3 separate regions of the Homo sapiens genome follow, and all the other regions are linked to region 2. The links are contacts of gene promoters, found by promoter capture Hi-C in blood cells and fetal thymus (Javierre and others, 2016). All regions are on one chromosome and are shown on one strand. The core of a region is centred on a gene start or on the middle of the fragment in contact, and the rest is flanking DNA. Distances in the headings are between cores, read along the strand shown. Region 1 overlaps FHAD1 (forkhead associated phosphopeptide binding domain 1). Region 2 holds the start of TMEM51-AS2 (TMEM51 antisense RNA 2). Region 3 overlaps EFHD2 (EF-hand domain family member D2).

Region 1 (3,416 bases), core at 528-3,027, 140 kb before region 2:
GGAAACACCCATGTCCGATAACCCGGGGCTGTTTGATTCCATTGTGCACAGACAAGAGAATGTCATGGAGCTTTAAAGACCCATGAGAAAAGCTCTTATCCATGTGAGGAAACAGTAATTGTTTAAAGTTTAAAAAATGTATATAGTGTAAATTTGTTGTTATATATCTGTTACAGATATATTTTTTCCAGGTAATTTTAGAAACAAAACAGAAGGAATATGCACTCAAGTACTGACATAGATTTCTTGGCGGTGGCATTTCTCTTCTCTCTTTAATTTTGCTCTCCAGTTTTATCTACTTTTTATTCTAAAATTAACACAGCACATGTAATTTGAAAAATAAAGACAGTCATTCGGATGTTCACATGAGCAATACCCTTGGTCACGAGGAGCCCACGTGCTGATGAACGCCAGGTGCGGCCTGGAGAAGAAGGCAGACCTGTTCCAAGGTCAACGGGGAAGGGAAATGGGGACACAAGTAACCCAAATGCACTTCGTGGGCAGAAGAGCTCCGGAGCTGCTGTTTCTCCGTATTTCTCCCACCTAACATCAGCTCTACAGCCCCGACACACATCCACACACCCCACACACCCCACACGCACCCCCATACCACACCACACCCACACATCCACACGCCCCCTCACCCACTCACCTACACACATCCACACCCCCACACACCCATTCACCCCCACACCACACATCCATACCCCCACACACCCATACACCCCCACACACCACACTCACACACACACCTACCCATATCCACACACACCCATACACACTTACACACATCCACATCCCCACACACCCATTCACCCCCACACCACACATCCATACCCCCACACACCCACATACATCCTCACACCCACACCCACATACCCACACACCTGAAAGGGCGACAACACATGTAATCCAGGCGGTGACCCTGCTCGGGGGACGGATGCAGAGGGCTGGGCGAGGCGGGCTAACCAGCCGCAGAGGCGGAAGCGCACAATGCAAACCGGCCTCTCACTTCTCAAAACTGATTTTGTTGTTCCCATTTCGCTGATGACAAAGGGGAGGCCACATCAGTTATAACAAAAGCCCACTCTGGGCTCGGACCCTGGTCTGTGTGCCCCCGGGGCTCCTGTCCTGCCTTTCCCCAGCTCCAGTTGGGGCACTGCGGTCAGAGCCAGAGGTCACTACTGCTGCTTCATCCTTGGACCCCCAGATCCACCCTGCCTGGGTGCCCATGCAGACTTGGCGAACTCTTCAGGCACACCTGAGATGAAAGCTGTTAGGTTTTACCTTGACTCACCGAAACAGACACATCTCACAAATACTGAGAAATCCTATAGGTTCAGGATTCTAAAGTCAGAGCATTGAGGTACATTTTGCAAATAGTTATTATTATTATTATTATTATTATTATTATTATTATTATTTGAGACGGAGTTTCACTCTTGTTGCCCAGGCTGGAGTGCAATGGCGCGATCTCAGCTCACTGCAATTTCTGCCTCCCAGGTTCAAGCTATTCTCCTGCCTCAGCCTCCTGAGTAGCTGGGATTACAGGCGCCTGGCTAATTTTTGTTATTTTTAGCAGAGACAGATTTTCACCATGTTGGCCAGGCTGGCCTCAAACTCCTGATCTCGTGTGATCCACCAGCCTCGGCCTCCCAAAAGTGCTGGGATTACAGGCATTAGCCACCGTGCCTGGCCTCAAAATTACTTTTAAACAGCTCTTGACTTGCCTACCAGGTTCACTCCACACAGAATATTCTTACCCACACTAAAGTCTAAGGGAAGAAATGAAAGTCTGTCTAACTGCACTTGGGCCTGCAAACATTCTGCTTCGAAGGTGACTGTGCAAACCAGTGGTTACTGGGATGAGGGGAAGCCCACCGTGTCCTCTTTTGCATGCAGTGATTCTATTCTGCTTTAATATTAAGCCTTGCCATGGAAATAGCCAAGCTGAGAGGTGCATTTACTGCTGGAATTAACCAAACTCATTTATAATGGGCATTAGAAAATGTTTCCTGGAGTTGAAGCTACATCTTGCTTATTCTGGGGCACGTGCACGCCGATCTTTGAAAAGGTGCAAAGAATGTGGCCAGCTGTTTTAGTTTTTCTAGGTAGGCATTTCATGTTTTGCCCCCAACGCCCACCCCCCCACCACCCCGCCCCCAGCACAATGGTGTGAGAGGAAGGAATGAAATTTAAACTAAGGGCCCAGGGTGAATGAAACAAGCATATCACGTGACTTCACTTTAGCTGCTTTTCACCGGATGGCTACAAGGTGACGCAGTCATCCTTACTCACTCTAGAGCCAAGGGCTTCCAGCTGGTGGTCCTTGTCCTTGTTCTGACTTTTTAGGTGACTGACCTCTTCCTTTAGTTGTTGAACTTGCTCATCCTTTGCTAATATGTCTTTTTGCAAAGATGACACCATCCCTGTAAAAAAGAAGACTCGCAGAGGTCAAAGAGGCAGTGAGGATGACTGTCATCGCTGCCGCTGTCAACCAGTTTGTGACGAGCCTGGCACTGAGAAGGGAGGTGTCTCCAAGGATCCCAGGAGCTTGAATGGGGTTGAGACCAATATCCACTGCACATCATTTGTTCAAGGTCCCAGTGAGAAGGAGAGGTCAGTCAGTGCGTGTTGCTGGAGACAGGAAACATCTGTCGGGGTGCTGTGGGCATCGGCCCTGCCTGGGAACAAAGGCTCAGCAGAGAGAGGGACCAGGAGGGGCCACGACATGGGCCTGTGGCAGCAAGGGACGTGTTGATTCACACTCATCTGAGTTTGGAAACCGTCTCTAGCACTTACTAGCTCAGTCGTCTTTTTTCTTGAGACAGGGTCTTACTCTGTCACCCAGGCTGGAGTACAGTGGCACGATCATGGTTCACTACAGCCTCGACCTCCTGGACTCAGGCGATCCTCCTGCCTTGGCCTCCCAAGTAGCTAGGACTACAGGTACGTGCCACTATGCCTGGCTAATTTTTGTATTTTTTGTAGACATGGAGTTTTGCCCATGTTGCCCAGGCGGGTCTCAAACTCCCAGGCTGAAGCAATCCACCAGCCTCTGTCTCCCAAAGTGCTGGGATTACAGATGTGAGCCACAATGCCCAGCCTAGCTTAGTGGTCTGAAGAAGTTATTTAACCTCTCATTGTATCTACAGAGTTGTATAAAGAACATAGTAGAGTGGCTAACACATAGTGTTTATTCCCTGCCACCCACAAGTATATGTGGTAGCCAGCTTGCAAAATGGCCCCCATGATCCCTGCCTGTTAGAATACCTGGCCTCGTGTAGCCCCCTCCCACCTGAATAGGGCTGACGTGTGTAACTCATATGGCACTGTGGAAGTGGTGAATGTGACTTCCCAGGGTGAATCATCAAAGATGTTGTGGTTTCTTCTTTGCTCTCCTTGGATCACTCAGT
Region 2 (3,218 bases), core at 134-2,633:
AGTACATATCCTCGGGGGATACGTTCCAAGACCCCCAGTGGATGCCTGAAACAACAGACAGCACCCGACCTTACACATAACGACGACGTTTTCTGATCTGATAACCCAGACCGCTCCTAAGTGACCAATGAGCAGGTAGTGTCGACAGCACCCATCTGCTGGACAAAGAGACGATTCACGTCTGGAGCAGGACAGAGTGGGACAGTGTGAGATTTCATCACACTACTCAGAATGGGATGCAATTTAAAACTTATGAATCATATCTTTCCGGAATTTTCCATTTAATATTTTCAGATTGTAGTTGGCTATGGGTAACTGAAACAGTGGAGAGTGAAATGATAGAAAAGGAGGAACTCTTGTAGACAATATAGGATCATAAAGGGTTAAGTCACTTGCTCAGGATCACAAAGCTGGCACGTGGTGGAACCAGAATTCTAACCCGTGGCTGTCTAGCCCCAGAGTTCACTTACTTTCTCTTTTCCTTTTTCTTCTGTCTCTGTCTCTCTCTCTCTCCTTCTTCTCTTTCTTTTTTCTTCTTTCTCTCTCTCCTTCCTTCCTTTCCATTCTTTTCTTTCCTCCCTCCCTCCTCCTTCCTTCCTTTTTTTTTTTTTTTTTTTTTGAGACAGGGTCTCACTCACTCTGTTGCCCAGGCTGGGGTGCAGTGGCACAATCTTGGCTCACTGCAGCCTTGACCTCCCAGGGTCAGGTGACCCTACCACCTCAGCCTTCCAAGTAGCTGGGACTACAGGCACGTGTCACCATGCTCCACTAATTTTGGTATTTTTTCTTTTTTGCAGAAATGGAGTTTTGCCATGTTGCCCAGGCTGGTCTTGCACTCCTGGGCTCAAGCGATCCACCTGCCTCAGCCTCCCAAAGTGCTGGGATTACAGGTGTGAGCCACTGTGCCTGGACAGAGTCCACTTTCTTTTCCATACTTCAGAAGTTTCAAACGTGGCTGGGTATGTTAATCAGCTAGAGAGCTTGTTTGAAAATCTGATTCCTGAGTCCCACTGCTGAAGTCTGACTCGGCAGGCCTGGGCTGGGGCCTGGAAATCTGCTTTTATTAAGTTCTCAGCTGATGATCTGAGCAAGGGGTTGTTGGGATGGACCACATCTGTTTCTGCTAGAAGGTCCTGTCAAGAGAGTCAGGGAACGCCCAGCAGAGCCCCAGAAACCACCTGTGGGTTCAAGGAGGAGGTTCCGCGGCAAGGACTGATTGATCAGCTGTGGTAGTTCCTGCTGTGCGGGCTTGGTTAAGCTGGAACTACTTTTCCCAGAATCCCCTTCTCTGACTGGTTCTGGGTTATAATTGGTCAAAAGAGGAATCTGTGGAAAGCTGGGAGATGGAAGTGAAGCAGCGACCATTACACTTTAGAGGTCATCATGATTGGATGAGGTGAGAGACAGCCCCGTGGGTTCCAGCACATTCGAGCCTGTCCTCCATTCTGCATCCAGCTCTTTCTCCTGACTGCTGGTCCTGTTAACCAACAGCAGCCCAGGCCCCCCCGCGGACACTTGGCTGGGGATGGACCAGACAACGGCTGGCTGTAGACTTCTCCACCAGTTTGCCCGTGTACCCAGGGCCAGGTGGCGATGCCCCTGGTCCCCGGCAACTCTTCCACCTTCCTTTCTGCCGCCCCCCCTATGAATGCATAAGAACTAATTCCTATAACAAACCCCTTATCTCATAGGTCATAGAAGTTTGGCTTCTCTCATTGACCTGGAAGGATGCCGTCATCCACTCTGACCTGCAAACCTTTTGATCTCAAACAGCGATCTTCCAGGCGTGGCCCCAAATCAACAGCATCAGCGTCACCCAGGAGCTGGTTAGAAATGCAAATCCTGGGGCCCCACTCAGACCTACTGAATCAGCAACTGGGGGTGGGGGATGTGGCGGGGGGTGGAGGAGGAGGGAGGACCCAGCAATCTATGTTTTAACAAGCCCCCCACCCCAGAGGATTCTAACACAAGCTGAAGATGGAGAACCACTCATGCAAGCATTTAGAAAACCTGCCTCTAGGGAGGCCGAGGCGGGCGGATCATGAGGTCAGGAGATCGAGACCATCCTGATTAACACGGTTAAACCCCGTCTCTACTAAAAATACAAAAAATTAGCCAGGCGTGGTGGAGGGCGCCTGTAGTCCCAGCTGCTTGGGAGGCTGAGGCAGGAGAATGGCATGAACCCGGGAGGCGGAGCTTGCAGTGAGCTGAGATCGCAACACTGCACTCCAGCCTGGGCGACAGAGGGAGACTCCGTCTCAAAAAAAGAAAACCTGCCTCCATTTCTGTTTGGGATGATGTAGTAGTTCTGGAAAAAAGACAGTGGCGATGGTCACACAGCACTGTAAATGTGCTTAATGTCCCAGAATTGTACACTTAAAAATGGTTAAAATAGGCCAGGTGTGGTGGTGACTCACGCCTATAATCCCAGCACTTTGGGAGCCTGAGGTGGGCAGATCACTTGAGCCTGGGAGTTTGATACCAGTCTGGGCAACATGGCAAAACCCCGTTTCTACCAAAAAATACAAAAATTAGCCGGGCGTGGTGGTGCGCACCTGTAATCCCAGCTACTCAGGAGGCTGAGGCAGGAGAATCGCTTGAAACTGGAAGGCGGAGGTTGCAGTGACTCCATCTCAAAAAAAAAAAAAGATAAAAAAAAACCCAGCAGTATCCCAGGCACCTAGCTTTACCTTGCCCTGCAGCAGAGGGCCGGGGGAGAGGAGGGAAAGGAGGAAGTTGGCTTGCTCATGGGTCTGTACTCCCAGGCATTCTGAGATAAAGCCCCACGACTCTCAGGTGTGTTTGGCTTGGATTTGGAATGGACTTACTAGAATGGAAAGATTTTCAAAAATAATTATGACAGTAACACCTAAAAATGTATTGAGCATGTACTGTTTTAAGTACATTTATAGTTGAATCTTCACAACATCCTAAAACTATTCTCCCCATTTCGAGAAAGTGAGCCATGGCTCAAGGTCACCCAGATCATTAGGACCATTTGAACTTAAAGCTGTTACTTTAATACAAAGTCATACATGTTTCTCTGTGGGAAACTCAGAAAGTACAGGTTAGAAAAGAGAAGACAGGGAGAAAGGGAATAAAAATTACTTGTAATCTGTTAGGAATAAACATTAGAAACATTATAGTAAATAGTCAAATTTTTATTCTTTGCGTATTAGGGAATTTTGAAATAAAAAATGGACAGCTTCGTAATCTGC
Region 3 (3,253 bases), core at 1-2,500, 240 kb before region 2:
CTTCATAGTCATTATTGTTATGATAGTGATTATAAAGAATATTTATTGAATGCCTAATATTAACATAACCCAGTGTTTATAACGTAACTTAATCTTTACTCCATACATCTTATCCTCTTACAGCTCAGACAAAGTCACCCACCTAAGGATAACCTTAGGTCAACCTCAGGAAGTGGTGGGGAGACGGCTGTGCGGGGGCCTGAGCCGAGGCTTAGCGCTTCTTAAACGTCAGTGTGCACACCTGGTGAAGCTGGTTACAGTGCGGATTATGGGCTGGGCGTGGTGGCTCATGCCTGTAATCCCTGCACTTTGGGAGGATGAGGTGGGAGGGTGGCTTGGGGCCAGGAGTTTGAGACCAGTCTGAGCAACATAATGAGACCCCATCTCTACAAAAATAAAAAAAAATTAGCTGGATGTGGTGGCATGTGCCTGTAGTCCCAGCTACTCAGGAGGCTGAGGTGGGAGGATCACTTAAGCCCAGGAAGTTGAGGCTGCAGTGAGCTATGATCGTACCACTGCACTTGGTCTGAGTGACAGAGCAAGACTCTGTCTCTTAAAAAAAAAAATTGCAGATTACAGTCTGGTAAATCTGGGGTGGAATCTGAGCATCTGCATTTCTAACATACTCCCGGGCGGTGAAGCTGCTGGTGTTTGGGCCACTGTAAGGGTTCAGAGGACTTGGAGCCGGGGAGGCCCAGGTTCAAATCCTATTCTGCCCCTCACTGGCTATGTGACTTTGGACAAGTCACATAACCCTTCTGAAAGTCCAGCCTCCTTAACTGTGAAATGGGCGAGGATAATGTTGCAGGATAAGAAAGGACTGAACGGGAGGCAAAGCATCTGGTTTGAAGTGTCTGTGGCTCAGGACTCCCTGGGCGGCCCGGCTCCCATCTGGCCACACCTTTCTGGCACTGACCCCTGCCTCTCTGTTGTCCTTGAAAAGCAGAAGTCAGCCAAGGAGAAGGTTGCCCGGCAGTCAGGGGAACTCAGCTGCTCCAGGGTGTGGGGACCTTCCCTGCTGAGGCTGCAAAGTGACTCTGCCTCTGCCGGCAGGGCTGGCCTTGAGGAAACGACCTCTGACATCCCCTGAGGCAGCAAGGCCTGCTGTCCTGGAGCCTAGACTCTCACAGTGGAAGCCAGTCCAAGCCACCAGGCCTTGGACCCAGGTAGCATGGAGGAGAGCGAGGAAGCCGGAGAAGGCAGGAAGGGTGGACCAAAGAGGAACCAAAAGTCCTGGGCCGGGGGTGTGGGGAAGGAGAGGTGACTCAGAGGCTGATGCATAGTGGAAGTGGGAGGAACGGAGTAAGGACCGAGGCCAGGAAATCCTTCCTCCCCAGGGGTGCAGGGCATTCTCCCCACCCACTGACCCTAAGCTGCAGGTGAAGGACCCCACCTCTCCACCTCTCTAAGGCTCTCGGAGGCTCCCCCAAGCCCCAGCCACAAACACGGCTTCACTTGGCCTCCAGGGGCTCCTTGCAGGAGGATCTGGTTCTAATCCTGTCACTGCCACTTAATATAATCTTAGACAAGTGACAATCGCCTTGAGCCTCAGTCTTCTCATCTGTCAAATGGGGATAAAAATGATAGTATCAGGCTGGGAGCGGTGGCTCTCGTCTGTAATCCCAGCACTTTGGGAGGCTGAGGCGGGCAGATCACTTGAGGTCAGAAGTTCGAGACCAGCCTGGCCAACATGGTGAAATCCCGTCTCTACTCAAAAATACAAAAATTAGCCAGGCATGGTGGTGTGTGCTTGTAGTCCCAGCTACTTGGGAGGCTGAAGCAGGAGAATCACTTGAACCCAGGAGACGAAGGCTGCAGTGAGCCAAGATCATGCCACTGTACTTCAGCCTTGGTGGCAGAGCGAGACTCCATCTCAAAAAAAAAAAAAAAAGGAAAACAAAGACAGTATCAATCTCATTGTGCTGGTGTGAGAATTCAATTCAGTTCTCTAAATAATATGCATAGGCTCCTCCAGGAATGGCTAGAACTAGTGGCTCTGTTTAACAAGGAGGGGGCACAGAGGCAGGGGGCTGGCTACAAAGAGAACATCAGCATGGTGTCATTCATGAGAGCTTTCGGTAATCATGGCAGAAATAAAGAAAAAAACCTTCCATTGCTAGCCTTGTGGGTGCAATCCTCTCTATCCCCAAACCTCTATACATGTTTGTTCTATATAAGGCTATAAGCCTCTTGAGGGCAGGAACTTGATTCATTTAATTCTCTGGATCTTGTAGCGCAAAAACTTAATATCTGTTGGAAGAATGATCACATACGAGAACCTTGTATTTTTCAAAAACATCATCTATCATGCAAACAGCCCAGACACCATGATGGGCTCGTCACAAAGACTCAGGGTGTTTTTATACCTAATCCTCAGAACTTTACCAGGTAGGTTCTTGAGCCCCAGGGGAAACTGAGGCTCAGAGATGCTGAGTCCCTTGCCTGGAGCAACCCAGCTGGGTGGTGGCAGACGGGAATCCCCATTGTGCACCCTCCAGAGCTGTTGTTTGCTCTCCCCTTTTTTGTGCCACCTGCCTTCCCTGAAACTAGGTGATAATGAATTCATTTCTCCCTTTTTGTTATTTATCAAAGCCATATGTAGCTGTCAATCAGAGTGGCTGTTCAGCAGGAGAGAAGGAGGGCTCTAACCCTGCGTCCTGTCACTAGGGCCCAAAGCAAAGGGTTGTCGACAACCTGGCAGACCTGGAAGCTCCGCTGGTGGTTAAGTGGAGGCAGCCAGTGGGCACTGTGGAGCTGCCTCTGAGCCAGCCGCAATGACCACTGCCAGGGCCCTATGAGGGGCCCAGGAGAGGGTGTATGCTGAGCTGGGGATGGCGGTGACAGTCATTTAGTAACGACTTGCTCTGTGCCAAGCACTGGGCTAAGCGCCATACAACAACCCTGTAACGTGGGTCCCCCTGTCCCCGCTGTTCCAGCGTGAGGAACAGAAGCTCAGAAGGGCTCCACAGCCCACAGCTGTATTCAAACCCAGGGCTGCAGACTCCAGAGGCCCTGCTGACTGCGTCCAGGAAGGGCTCCTGGGAGAGGTGTGTCCCCTGGAGGTGGAGGTGTGGAGAAGAGGGCGGGAGGCTTCCAGAGCTTGTGCAGGGAAGAGCTGGCCAGAAGGAAAGGAAAGCCTGCCTCTCTGACGTAAGGTGTCCTGAGATGAAGTGGCTGGGGATGACAGTGGGGACAGGGCCTGCAAGGCTGTGCTAGGCGGGAGACAGGGATCTAGGGCATCGTCCTCAGATTC

The links. The method cuts DNA at HindIII sites, captures the fragments that hold promoters and counts their contacts. A CHiCAGO score of 5 or more calls a contact.
Region 1: a contact is called between a fragment that was not itself captured here and the fragment with the promoter of TMEM51-AS2 in region 2, in 4 of 17 cell types (monocytes, M1 macrophages, M0 macrophages and 1 more). The highest score is 8.0, in monocytes.
Region 3: a fragment that was not itself captured here is called in contact with the fragment with the promoter of TMEM51-AS2 in region 2 in 1 of 17 cell types (endothelial precursors); the score reaches 5.1 in endothelial precursors.

The regions. Positions count from the first base shown.
Region 1 is chr1:15,312,070-15,315,485 of GRCh38, reverse strand. FHAD1 (forkhead associated phosphopeptide binding domain 1) reads right to left here. Exons shown (of 34, transcript NM_001391957.1): 8 at 2,299-2,429. Among named protein-coding and RNA genes, the nearest start is that of FHAD1-AS1, 30 kb to the left of the region's middle. The HindIII fragment of the contact is 8,292 bases long and covers 1-3,416 here.
Region 2 is chr1:15,169,789-15,173,006 of GRCh38, reverse strand. TMEM51-AS2 (TMEM51 antisense RNA 2) reads left to right here and starts at 1,383. Exons shown (of 3, transcript NR_167931.1): 1 at 1,383-1,396; 2 at 1,692-1,826. The region is part of intron 1 of TMEM51 (transmembrane protein 51); the gene reads right to left. RefSeq lists an enhancer at 694-863. The HindIII fragment of the contact is 7,186 bases long and covers 1-3,218 here.
Region 3 is chr1:15,414,129-15,417,381 of GRCh38, reverse strand. All of the region lies in intron 1 of EFHD2 (EF-hand domain family member D2), which reads right to left. Among named protein-coding and RNA genes, the nearest start is that of EFHD2-AS1, 3.4 kb to the right of the region's middle. RefSeq lists a silencer at 75-369 and enhancers at 738-827, 576-1,075. The HindIII fragment of the contact is 6,712 bases long and covers 1-3,253 here.